Linked DNA regions of Homo sapiens: region 2 is linked to region 1. The links are contacts of gene promoters, found by promoter capture Hi-C in human tissues and cell types (Jung and others, 2019). All regions are on one chromosome and are shown on one strand. Each heading gives the region's core, a stretch centred on a gene start or on the middle of the fragment in contact. The rest is flanking DNA. Distances are from core to core; before and after follow the strand shown.

Region 1 (4,530 bases), core at 1,415-3,914:
GCAGGCCCTAAAAGTCTGAGCTCCAAGCCTCCAGGGTCCCTCTCCTTTTCCTTCTCCTATTCCCCTCCGAAGTTCTCATCCCTAGTTAAGCCCTGATGGAGCCAGGAGTTTGGGGGCCCCTGAGGCCCCTGGGCCACAGCTCAACTGGCCAGGCCACATTCCAGGTGGATTAACCCCTCCAATGACAAGGGTGAGAAGCTACTAGAGGACTCCCCCATCCCCATGTTCCCCAGACTTGGCTTAGACTGGGAACAGGGCTCTCTGCCTTAGCCCTCCTTGTCTTTGCTTCTCACCTACCAATGGGAAACACAGGCAGGTAGGGCAGTGGGGGTCCCCACAGAGGGATGCTCAGCTCCTGATCCTCACCAAGGAATGATGCTGCATGTGAGCCAATGAGAGTTGTCCTTGGCCTTCCTCTTATTTTGCCTCAGAGAAGGGACTTGGGAGTTGAGTGAAGAGAGGAAGGGGGTAGAGATTCCTCCCATTTCTGAGCCTTGGTTCTGTCGTGGCTGGGAAGAGAAGGGGAGGGTCTTAAACCCAGGGTAGGAGAATGGACTAAGGAATTGAAGGCAGTGCAGAGTAAAAGGAAGTCCTAAACTGAGGCCCCAGGTGCCTTGGTTCTTTGGGGGACTCATGGAAAGTAGAGAACATTCTTCCTCTACTAAGATGCCATCTCAAATGGTGGGGCAGCGGGGATGACAGACTAGGGGAGAGGGGCTCTTACAAAGCTGCTTCTCTTAGAGCTGAGGTGGAGTTGAGGGGAGGGCATGGATGAAGGGGGCTGCCGGATGGAGGGGGGTGTGTTTCCCTGTCGCCCTGCCCGCTCCAGAGCCTGGAACAAAGCTGCTCTTGTCGGCCACTCTCCACCCGCTGCCCCCCTCCCCTCTGTATAAACACGACCACCTTTTTCCATGACCCCATCTCCAGCCTGGGCAGAGAACCCAGGCATCCTCTGCTCTAGCCTGGGCCCCCAGCCTGCTCCCCAGGAGGCAGCAGTGGGCCAGGCTTCCTTGGCATTGTGCCATCCCTGGGGGAGTCCAGACCCTTGAGTCTCCACCTCTCATCCCCAGGTGCCCTCCCTCCACCCTACTAGCCCCAGGGAGGGGCAGTGCCCAGGAGGCAGGCAGGCAATGCCAGTGGAATGTGTGTGGGCATCAGAGGGCATGGACAGGGTGGGGCAGAGGGGGGAACTGGAGGTGCCAGTTAGGTGGCTTTCTGAGCCAGGGGTGGGGGTGTGCCGGGGTGTGGGGGGGCGTGCCCCATGCTGCCTACTAGGCTGTAGGCCACAGTGCGTGTGTGTGTGTGTGTGTGTGTGTGTGTGTGTGTGTGTGTGTGTGTATGTCTGTCTATATGGGATACCCAAGCTCCAGGCTCCCTGCACACACTACCCCCACTCCCCTGTCTTCTCTCTACTTGCCTCAAGGATATGAGATGCTGGCTATGGTCCTTGACCCCAACTCAGCATCTGACCCTAAGGGCAGAAGCCTCAGACTTGAGGATTGGGATTCCAGCTGCCCAGGACCAGAGCCCTAAAGCGGGACAGTCATCTCAGTTTCTTGCCCTGAAGACCTCCTACTCAGGCTCCCCTGCCCCCACCACCACTAACAACCAAGCATCTTCTTACCCGCTGGCCGCCTGCAGAGACTGGCTTCTACATACTGGGTCAGGTTGAGGGAACTGGGCCGTAGCTGCTAAAGACAGAGAGGCAGCGTCAGTGGAACTCTGGGACCAGCACTCCTGGGTCCCTGTCCCGGTCTTCCTGCTCTTTCTTTGTTCCATTTGGGCTTCCCTCAAGAATACTCCAGAGGTGCCCCCCACCTTGGCTGGAGGGAGCCAAGGCTCGCACCTGGGCTGGGAACGTGTGGGAGGGAATCCAGCGCTTCAAGGAAAGTTCACAGATCCCTATCCTATGCACCAGTCCTTCGGAACTCCTGGACGCGGAGGGCCAGGCTCACTTGCCTCTGGACGTTTTCCTTGCCTTCTGATGTCCAAGCTGTCCCATTCCACTGGGGAGGGAGGAACTTGGACCAGCATGGAACATCAAATCTACCCCTCAGAGCCCGGGGGTAAGGGGGTGGTAGTCTTTCCCCGCGAGAGGAAACCCTGTCTTCTCTCACATTCCCAGCACAAAAATATAAGGAGGAATGCCCCCTGGCTGAAGACTTCCCCAAATGCTGTCCTCTGCTATGCACCAAAATGAAGGGCAGATGACCCAGCCCATCCTCAGCCTGTTAAAATCTTCCCCATTCCCTTCCCACAGCAGGACTGGCCTGGGTCGGGGCAAGAAGCCCCCCTCAAGCCCGGCGGCCAGCCTGGCCAGCCTCGGGAGGGCATTCGCCCGTGCAGCTCCTCCGCGCCCCCTCCCCCAGCCGCCTCGCCGGAGGACCCAGGCGACGGGGCGGGCGAGCCTGCTTCCCCGCCTGACTCACCTGGAGTGGGAGGGGGAAGGGAGGCGGCGGAGCCCCGAGGTCCCGGCGTCGGGCAGTCTCTTGGATGGAGCGTCGCAATGTCCGGGGCTCGCCGTACTGGGGGGCTCCTGGGGGGGCACGGCTCTAGGCTGGGACTGTCCCGGGGCCTCTCGGAGCCCGCCCGCCCACGTGACCGCCCCAAAATATCCGACACATTTTCTCCCAAACCGCACACTGACTCTGCAGGCGGGGACACGGAAAATATTTTCTTTCTTTTTCTCCCTCCCCACCCCCCCCCCAACCTCCCTCCCTGCCCAACTCCCTCCTCCCCCTCCCGCCCTCGCTCCTCCCTCCCCTGCCTGCCCCTGCCCGGCTCCCTCCTCTGTGCCCTGGGGCTGGGGGGCGGAGGGATGGGTGGGCGGGAGGGGGACTGGGCGGGGCGGCCCGGGACGCCTGGGTCTCTGCCCTTCCCATTTGCTAGGCTTCCGTGACTCCATCCTCTGGGAGGCCGGGCACGGCTGGCAGAGGAGGTCAGTGTCCTGGCCCCGTGATGCCAACCTTTTCTCTCTGGCACTTTTCTCCTTTCTGCCTTTTGGGGGGACTAGTTGAGTTGTCTGTGGCCAGGCTGTGACTCTTGCGAGGCCAGTCTCTGGCGCCTCCCCAGGGTAGGCAATGGGGCGGTACCCACTCCCTCCCAGTGCTGGATTGGCCGGGCAGGAGTATGCCAGATCTAGAATAGATGCTCCTGCCCTTACTCTTTGCTCAGCCTTCACCTGCAGATCCAAGTAGCCTCTCCCTTCCCCTAGCCCACCTCAGTCCTTTGGTCCCAGGAGCAAACTGGTTGACTAGTGGCTGTTGCTGGGGGTGCTGAGGCCAGGGCTCACAGACATCTTCCCTGTCATCTTGCCTGGAGTAAGCTCCAGGAGTTAGGGCGCCTGGGTCCCTGGCTGCCAGTTGTCCCCCACCTTTAGGCCTGGATTTGGAAGGGGAGAGGCTGGAGAGGAGGGCAGGAGGAACTGTGGCTGGGAGTGGGAGGAGCCTTGGGCTGGGTGTGAGAGAGAAAGCCCAGGCAGAGGGTGTGTGTCTGCCCTAGCCAGCACCGGCCTGCCTGCCTGCCTGCCTGGTAGATGTGCCATGAATGCTGTTGACTCCGGGTGTGTGTGTGTGTGCGTGTGTGTGTGTGTGTGTCTGTGCAAGCGCGTGCGCATGCCAGTGCCGAGAGTGAGTGTCTGTGTCTGATGGGGGCATTATCTGCTTCAACATAGACAGACTCTCAACCCTAGAGTGAGAGAACCCAGTGGTTTCACTCTGCATTCTACTGAGGACAGAGGGAGAGAAAAGAATGGGTCTGCAGTCCAAGCTCTGTGCACGGATCCCAAACACTCCCATGGGGACTGGAGTTGGGAGGGAGAAAGAGGAGAAGGGGAGAGTCTGAGCTAGGCTGATAGGCTGGACAGACATACCCAAAGTACCTTCCCCAGCAATGCTCGCAGGGTGACCAGGACCTGGGACACAGACTCCTGGGTCACGTCACATTTTCCATACTGGAATTACTTGGCTTTGTCCTTGCTCCCCCCTGGGGGCCAGGTGTCCTCCCTCCTGGGAAAGGCTGCTTTTGGTAGCCAAAGTCAGGTGAAGGAGATGGGGGAAAGAAGAGGCATGCTGTGGTTACCTCAGGGAATGGGAGATGGCAATGGGGGTGCAGACAAGCCCTCTCTTTCACTCCAGGGATAGGAAGAGCTAGGAATAGATACTCCAGGGTCCCGTCCCCAGGTGGCCTAGCTGCTGTTGACTTTGCTTGGTTACCCTGGGAGCAGCTCTCAGCAGTGTGGGAGGGGCGGGTGTCAGGGAGTTGGACCCAGGCGTCCAGGCTGGGGTGGGATGGCGCCCCGCCTGTGTGGCAGGGCTCCTGCCAAGAGGCTGCAAAGTTAACCCCTCCTGCCCTGCCCTAGTGGTGGCTGGTGGGAGGAGGGCGGGCCCAGTTGTGGTTTGGGAATGTGGCCCTAATTTCCCCCTCCCCCTTCCAGCACATCTGTACTTGGTTTACAGTGAATGAGCCTCCTGTCCTCATGAACCAGGCAAGGGCACCACTCCCTCCTTGGCCAGGCATTCTGACACAGAA
Region 2 (5,093 bases), core at 1,291-3,790, 42 kb after region 1:
AACCTCCCAGGCTCAAGCGATCCTCCCACCTCAGCCCCGCAACGAGCTCACCTTGCAGGTTCAAGCGACTCTCCTGCCTCAGCCTCCCAAGTAGCTGGGACTGCAGGCGCGCACCACTATGCCTGGCTAATTTTTGTATTTTTTGTAGAGATGATGTCTGGCCATATTGTCCAGGCTGGTCTTGAACTCCTGGACTCGAGTGATCTGCCCACCTTGGCTTCCCTGAAACCCTGTCTCTACTAAAAATAGAAAACTAGCCAGGCAAGGTGGTGCATGCCTGTAATCCCAGCTACTTGGTAGGCTGAGGCAGGAGAGTCGCTTGAACCTGCAAGGTGGAGGTTGCAGTGAGCCAAGATTGCACCACTGCACTCCAGCCTGGGCAAGAGGGCACTCCAGCCTGGGCAACAAGAGCGAAACTCCATCTCAAAAAAAAAGGAGAATTCTTCCCACAGAGTACTGAAGACTGACTTTATTTTCTCCCAGTCATCTATGTTGATGGCCAAGAAGCTGCATAAATAAGTTATTATCATTTATTCAGCAAATATTTGTTGCCGGGCGCAGTGGCTCACGCCTGTAATCCCAGCACTTTGGGAGGCCGAGGCGGGCGGATAACGAGGTCAGGAGATCGAGACCATCCTGGCTAACAGTGAAACCCCGTCTCTACTAAAAATACAAAAAATTAGCCGGGCGTGGTGGCAGGCGCCTGTACTCCCAGCTACTCAGGAGGCTGAGGCAGGAGAATGGTGTGAACCCGGGAGGTGGAGCTTGCAGTGAGCCAAGATCGTGCCACTGCTCTCCAGTCTGAGCGACAGAGCAAGACTCTGTCTCAAAAAAAAAAAAAAAAAATTTGTTGAGTACTCACTGTGTGCAACGCACTATTTGGAGTACTTGGATGTGTCGGTAAGCAAAACAAAGTTTCCTTCCCTCATGGAGCCACGTTCTAGTTTGGGGGGAAAAGATAAACAGATTCAGTAAATAAGTGAATTATCAACATATTAGAACGTGATAAGAAATGTGGGGGAAAGGAAAAGTAGAGCAGGATAAGAAAGGGAATTGGGAGTCTAAGGTGCATGACGGGGGGCAAGTTACCACCTTAAATCAGGTGGTCAGGGTAGACCTCATTGAGAGGGTGACATGAGCAAAGGCTTGGAGGATGTGAGGGAGTCAGCCATGTGGGTTCCTGGAAAAGAACATCCCTGGCAGAAGAAACAGCCAGTGCTGAGGCAGGAGGGGGTCTCGTTTGTAAAATGAGTGCAGATGGGCTGAGTGGTGTGAAGGGCATGGGCCTATTTGGGGCAGGAAGGGGAGAGCCGCCCCTTCCCCATTCCTAGCAGTAGGGGTTCCTGTCTGATCTGGAAGCTGCTGAACTGACCACAGATCCAGCTGATCTCTGCTGCCTCTCCAGGAGGAGAGGGTGGTGGGAGCCTTTCCTATGGTCAATTGTGCCTTTTCTCCCCTGCAGCTTCTTACACCAGTAATTTGGCCTACAGCTTCTATAGTCACAAGCTCTATGCCGAGGCCTGTGCCATCTCTGAGCCGCTCTGTCAGCACCTGGGTTTGGTGAAGCCAGGCACTTATCCCGAGGTGCCTCCTGAGAAGGTACAAGGGAATGAGAGATGCAGGAAAGGAGCTTATGTGGTTGGGGAGCGGGGGGAGCGGGGAAGGGCCTCACCAGCACCCTGCCTTGGAGTGGGAGGTTAATAGCAGCATGTTGACACCAGTATCTGGAGCAGTGTTTCCCAAACCTCACTGTACTGTTACTTACTGTTGACTCATTTTTTTTTTTTTTTTTTTTTGAGACGAGTCTCGCTCTGTCGCCCAGGCTGGAGTGCAGTGGCACAATCTTGGCTCACTGCAACCTTTGCCTCAGCAAAGGTTCAAGCAATTCTCCTGCCTCAGCCTCCCAAGTAGCTGGGATTACAGGTGCCCACCACCACGCCCAGCTAATTTTTGTATTTTTTGTAGAGACGGGGTTTCACCATTTTGGTTGGCCAGGCTGGTCTCAAACTCCAGACCTCAGGTGATCCGCCTGCCTCAGCCTCCCAAAGTGCTGGGATTACAGGTGTGAGCCACCGCAGCCGGCCTGACTCACTTTTTATATTTAGCCTGGTCCTAAGCTACTGGTTTCCAGCCAAGCTGCACATTAGAATCACCTGAGTGACCTTTAAGAAAATTCTAATGTCTGCCCCGAGTTAATTGCATCAGAATCTCTAGTGTTTGCCGGGCGTGATGGCTCACGCCTATAATTCCAGCACTTTGGGAGGCTGAGGCAGGTGGATCACCTGAGGTCTGGAGTTTGAGACCAGCCTGTCCAACATGGTGAAACCCCGTCTCTACTGAAAATACAAACATTAGCCAGGCGTGGTGGCATGTGCCTGTAATCCCAGCTACTTTGGAGGCTGAGGCAGGAGAATTGCCTGAACCCAGGAGGTGGAGTTTGCAGTGAGCCGAGATTGTGCTACTGTACTCCAGCCTGGGCTACAGAGCAAGACTCCATCTCACATCTGAATATTTTCAAAGATCCCCCAGGTGGTCCTTTGAGCAAGGAGAGTGAGAACCTGGGTTCTTGGTTTTTTGGTTTTTTTTTTTTTTTTTTTTTTTTTTTTTTGGAGACTGAGTCTTGCTCTTGCTTTGTCACCCAGGCTGGAGTGCAGTGGCACGATCTCGGCTCACTGCAACCTCCACCTCCTGGGTTCAAGCAATTCTCTGCCTCAGCCTCCTGAGTAGCTGGGATTATAGGCATGCGCCACCATGCCTGGCTAATTTTTGTATTTTTAGTAGAGACGGGGGTTTCATCATCTTGGCCGGGCTGGTCTTGAACTCCTGACCTCATGATCCACCCGCCTCGGCCTCCCAAAGTGCTGGGATTACCGGCGCAAGCCACCGCGCTGGGCAAGAACCAGTGTTCTTAAGCAAGAATACCTGTGAACTGATGCATTGGCGGGATTGGCAAGCAAGATGAGTCATAGAGGGGCTTGGGTTTCATCTTAACTGAGATGATAAGCCTCTAAAGGATTTAAGTGGAGGCATGACAGCAGACAGGCATTTTGGATTTCCCTGACTTCGCTGTGATGAATGGAGTGCAGGAGAAAAGACCGGGTAATCAGGCTGCTATAGTATTCTAGGCAGGGAAGGGTGGGCTGAACTGAAGCAGCTGCACGAGGGATGGAATGCAGTGGATCGGTGCGAGAAGCCAAGGATTAACCTGGTAGGTGACTGGCGGGAGGGAGAGCGAGAGAAGGGAACATCAGAGATGGCCCCACATTTCTTACTCAGGAGAAGGCAGTGCCATTTGCTGAGAAGGATTACAGGAGAAGCAGGTTTTCAAGGGTGTGGATGATGAACATAGGGGTGGAGTGGATTGCAGCCTCTGAGTTGAAGGCACTCAGAGTATTTCATTCTTAGGTGTCTCCTGCCTTGGGTGGGTGTGGCTCAGGAGGCCCACCTGCCAACCCCGCCCCCTCATGTGGTGTATGTACCTATTGCATGCATATCCCCTTCCACCATACACACTCACTGGTTCCTCTCCAGTTTGGTCTGTTCCCTTTCTCTGGTCAGTTGCACAGGTGCTTCCGGCTACAAGTAGAGAGTTTGAAGAAACTGGGTAAACAGGCCCAGGGCTGCAAGATGGTGATTTTGTGGCTGGCAGCCCTGCAACCCTGTAGCCCTGAACACATGGCTGAGCCAGTCACTTTCTGGGTTCGGGTCAAGATGGATGCGGCCAGGGCTGGAGACAAGGAGCTACAGCTAAAGTGAGTTGAGGGCCAGACGCAGTGGCTCATGCTTGTAATCCCAGCACTTTGGGAAGCCGAGGCGGGTGGATCACTTGAGGTCAGGAGTTTGAGACCATGGCCAACATGGTGAAACCCCGTCTCTACTACAAATACAAAAATTAGCTGGGCATTGGCCGTGCACAGTGGCTCACACATGTAATCCCAGCACACATGTAATCCCAGCACTTTGGGAGGCCGAGGCGGGCAGATCATGAGGTCAGGAGATCGAGACCATCCTGGCTAATACGGTGAAACCCCATCTCTACTAAAAATACAAAAATTAGCTGGGCGTGGTGGCGGGTGCCTGTAGTCCCAGCTACTCGGGAGGCTGAGGCAGGAGAATGGCGTGAACCCGGGAGGCGGAGGTTGCAGTGAGCCGAGATCGTGCCACTGCACTCCAGCCTGGGTGACAGAGGGAGACTCCATCTCAAAAAAAAAGTGAGTTGGGGAGGGGGTCAACCATGTTTCTCCCATGGATAGGGTGGCTTTTGGTACTCATGGTCATGTCCTTTCATCTTTATGTCTGAAAAATACTAATTCCTTCATTCATTAGTTATTCATTGAGTGCCCACTGTATGCTAGCCACTGTGCTACTTGGGGGGTATAGTGGTGACAGTGGTCTTGCTTTCATGGAGCTTATATTCTACTTGGGGAGATATTTTTAAAAAGTACATTTTGCATTTTGTGTCTGTTCCTTTTTTTTTTTTTTTTTTTAATAGAGACAAGGTCTCACTATGTTGCCTAGGCTGGTCTTGAACTCCTGAGCTCAAGTGATCCTTCCACCTTGGCCTCCCAAAGTGCTAGGATTACAGGCATGAGCCAGTGCGCCCAGCCTTCACGTATGCTCTATGAAGACAATTAAACTGATTTGCTAAAAGAGGGAGCAACTTGAGGTGGGTTATTTAGGAAAACCCTTTTTGAAGAAGTGATAGATGAGACCTGAGGATGTGAAGGAATCTACTTTGTAAAGATCTCAGGGAGCCTGGGCAACAAAGCGAGACCTTGACTCTACTTAAAAAATATTAGCCGAATGTGGTGGCATGAACCTATAGTCTATTTACACTTGGTTAGGAGGCTGAAGTGGGAGGATCACATGAGCCTGGAAGATCAAGGCTGTAGTGAACCGTGATCACGCTATTGCACTCCAGCCTGGGCAACAGAGTGAGACTGTCTAAAAAAAAACAAACAAAAAACTCAGGGAAGAGAATTCCTTGCAGAGAGAGTAGTAAATACAAAGGTTGCAAAGTGGGAACAAACTTGGGACCATGCTTGAGAAAGCCGGCATGCTGGGGGTAGTAGAATAGCGGTATAGGATGGGGA

What was found. Contacts are between HindIII fragments. The study calls those that stand out against the background at their distance.
Region 2: a contact is called between a fragment that was not itself captured here and the fragment with the promoter of RARG in region 1, in 3 of the 25 tissues and cell types used here (mesenchymal stem cells, neural progenitor cells and ovary).

Annotation. Positions count from the first base shown.
Region 1 is chr12:53,229,545-53,234,074 of GRCh38, forward strand. RARG (retinoic acid receptor gamma) reads right to left here and starts at 2,665. Exons shown (of 10, transcript NM_000966.6): 1 at 2,430-2,665; 2 at 1,625-1,691. RefSeq lists silencers at 2,351-2,480, 2,801-2,850. The HindIII fragment of the contact is 27,501 bases long and covers 1-4,530 here.
Region 2 is chr12:53,271,259-53,276,351 of GRCh38, forward strand. ESPL1 (extra spindle pole bodies like 1, separase) reads left to right here. Exons shown (of 31, transcript NM_012291.5): 6 at 1,463-1,599; 7 at 3,559-3,752. Among named protein-coding and RNA genes, the nearest start is that of ESPL1, 5.5 kb to the left of the region's middle. RefSeq lists an enhancer at 4,986-5,093. The HindIII fragment of the contact is 8,629 bases long and covers 1-5,093 here.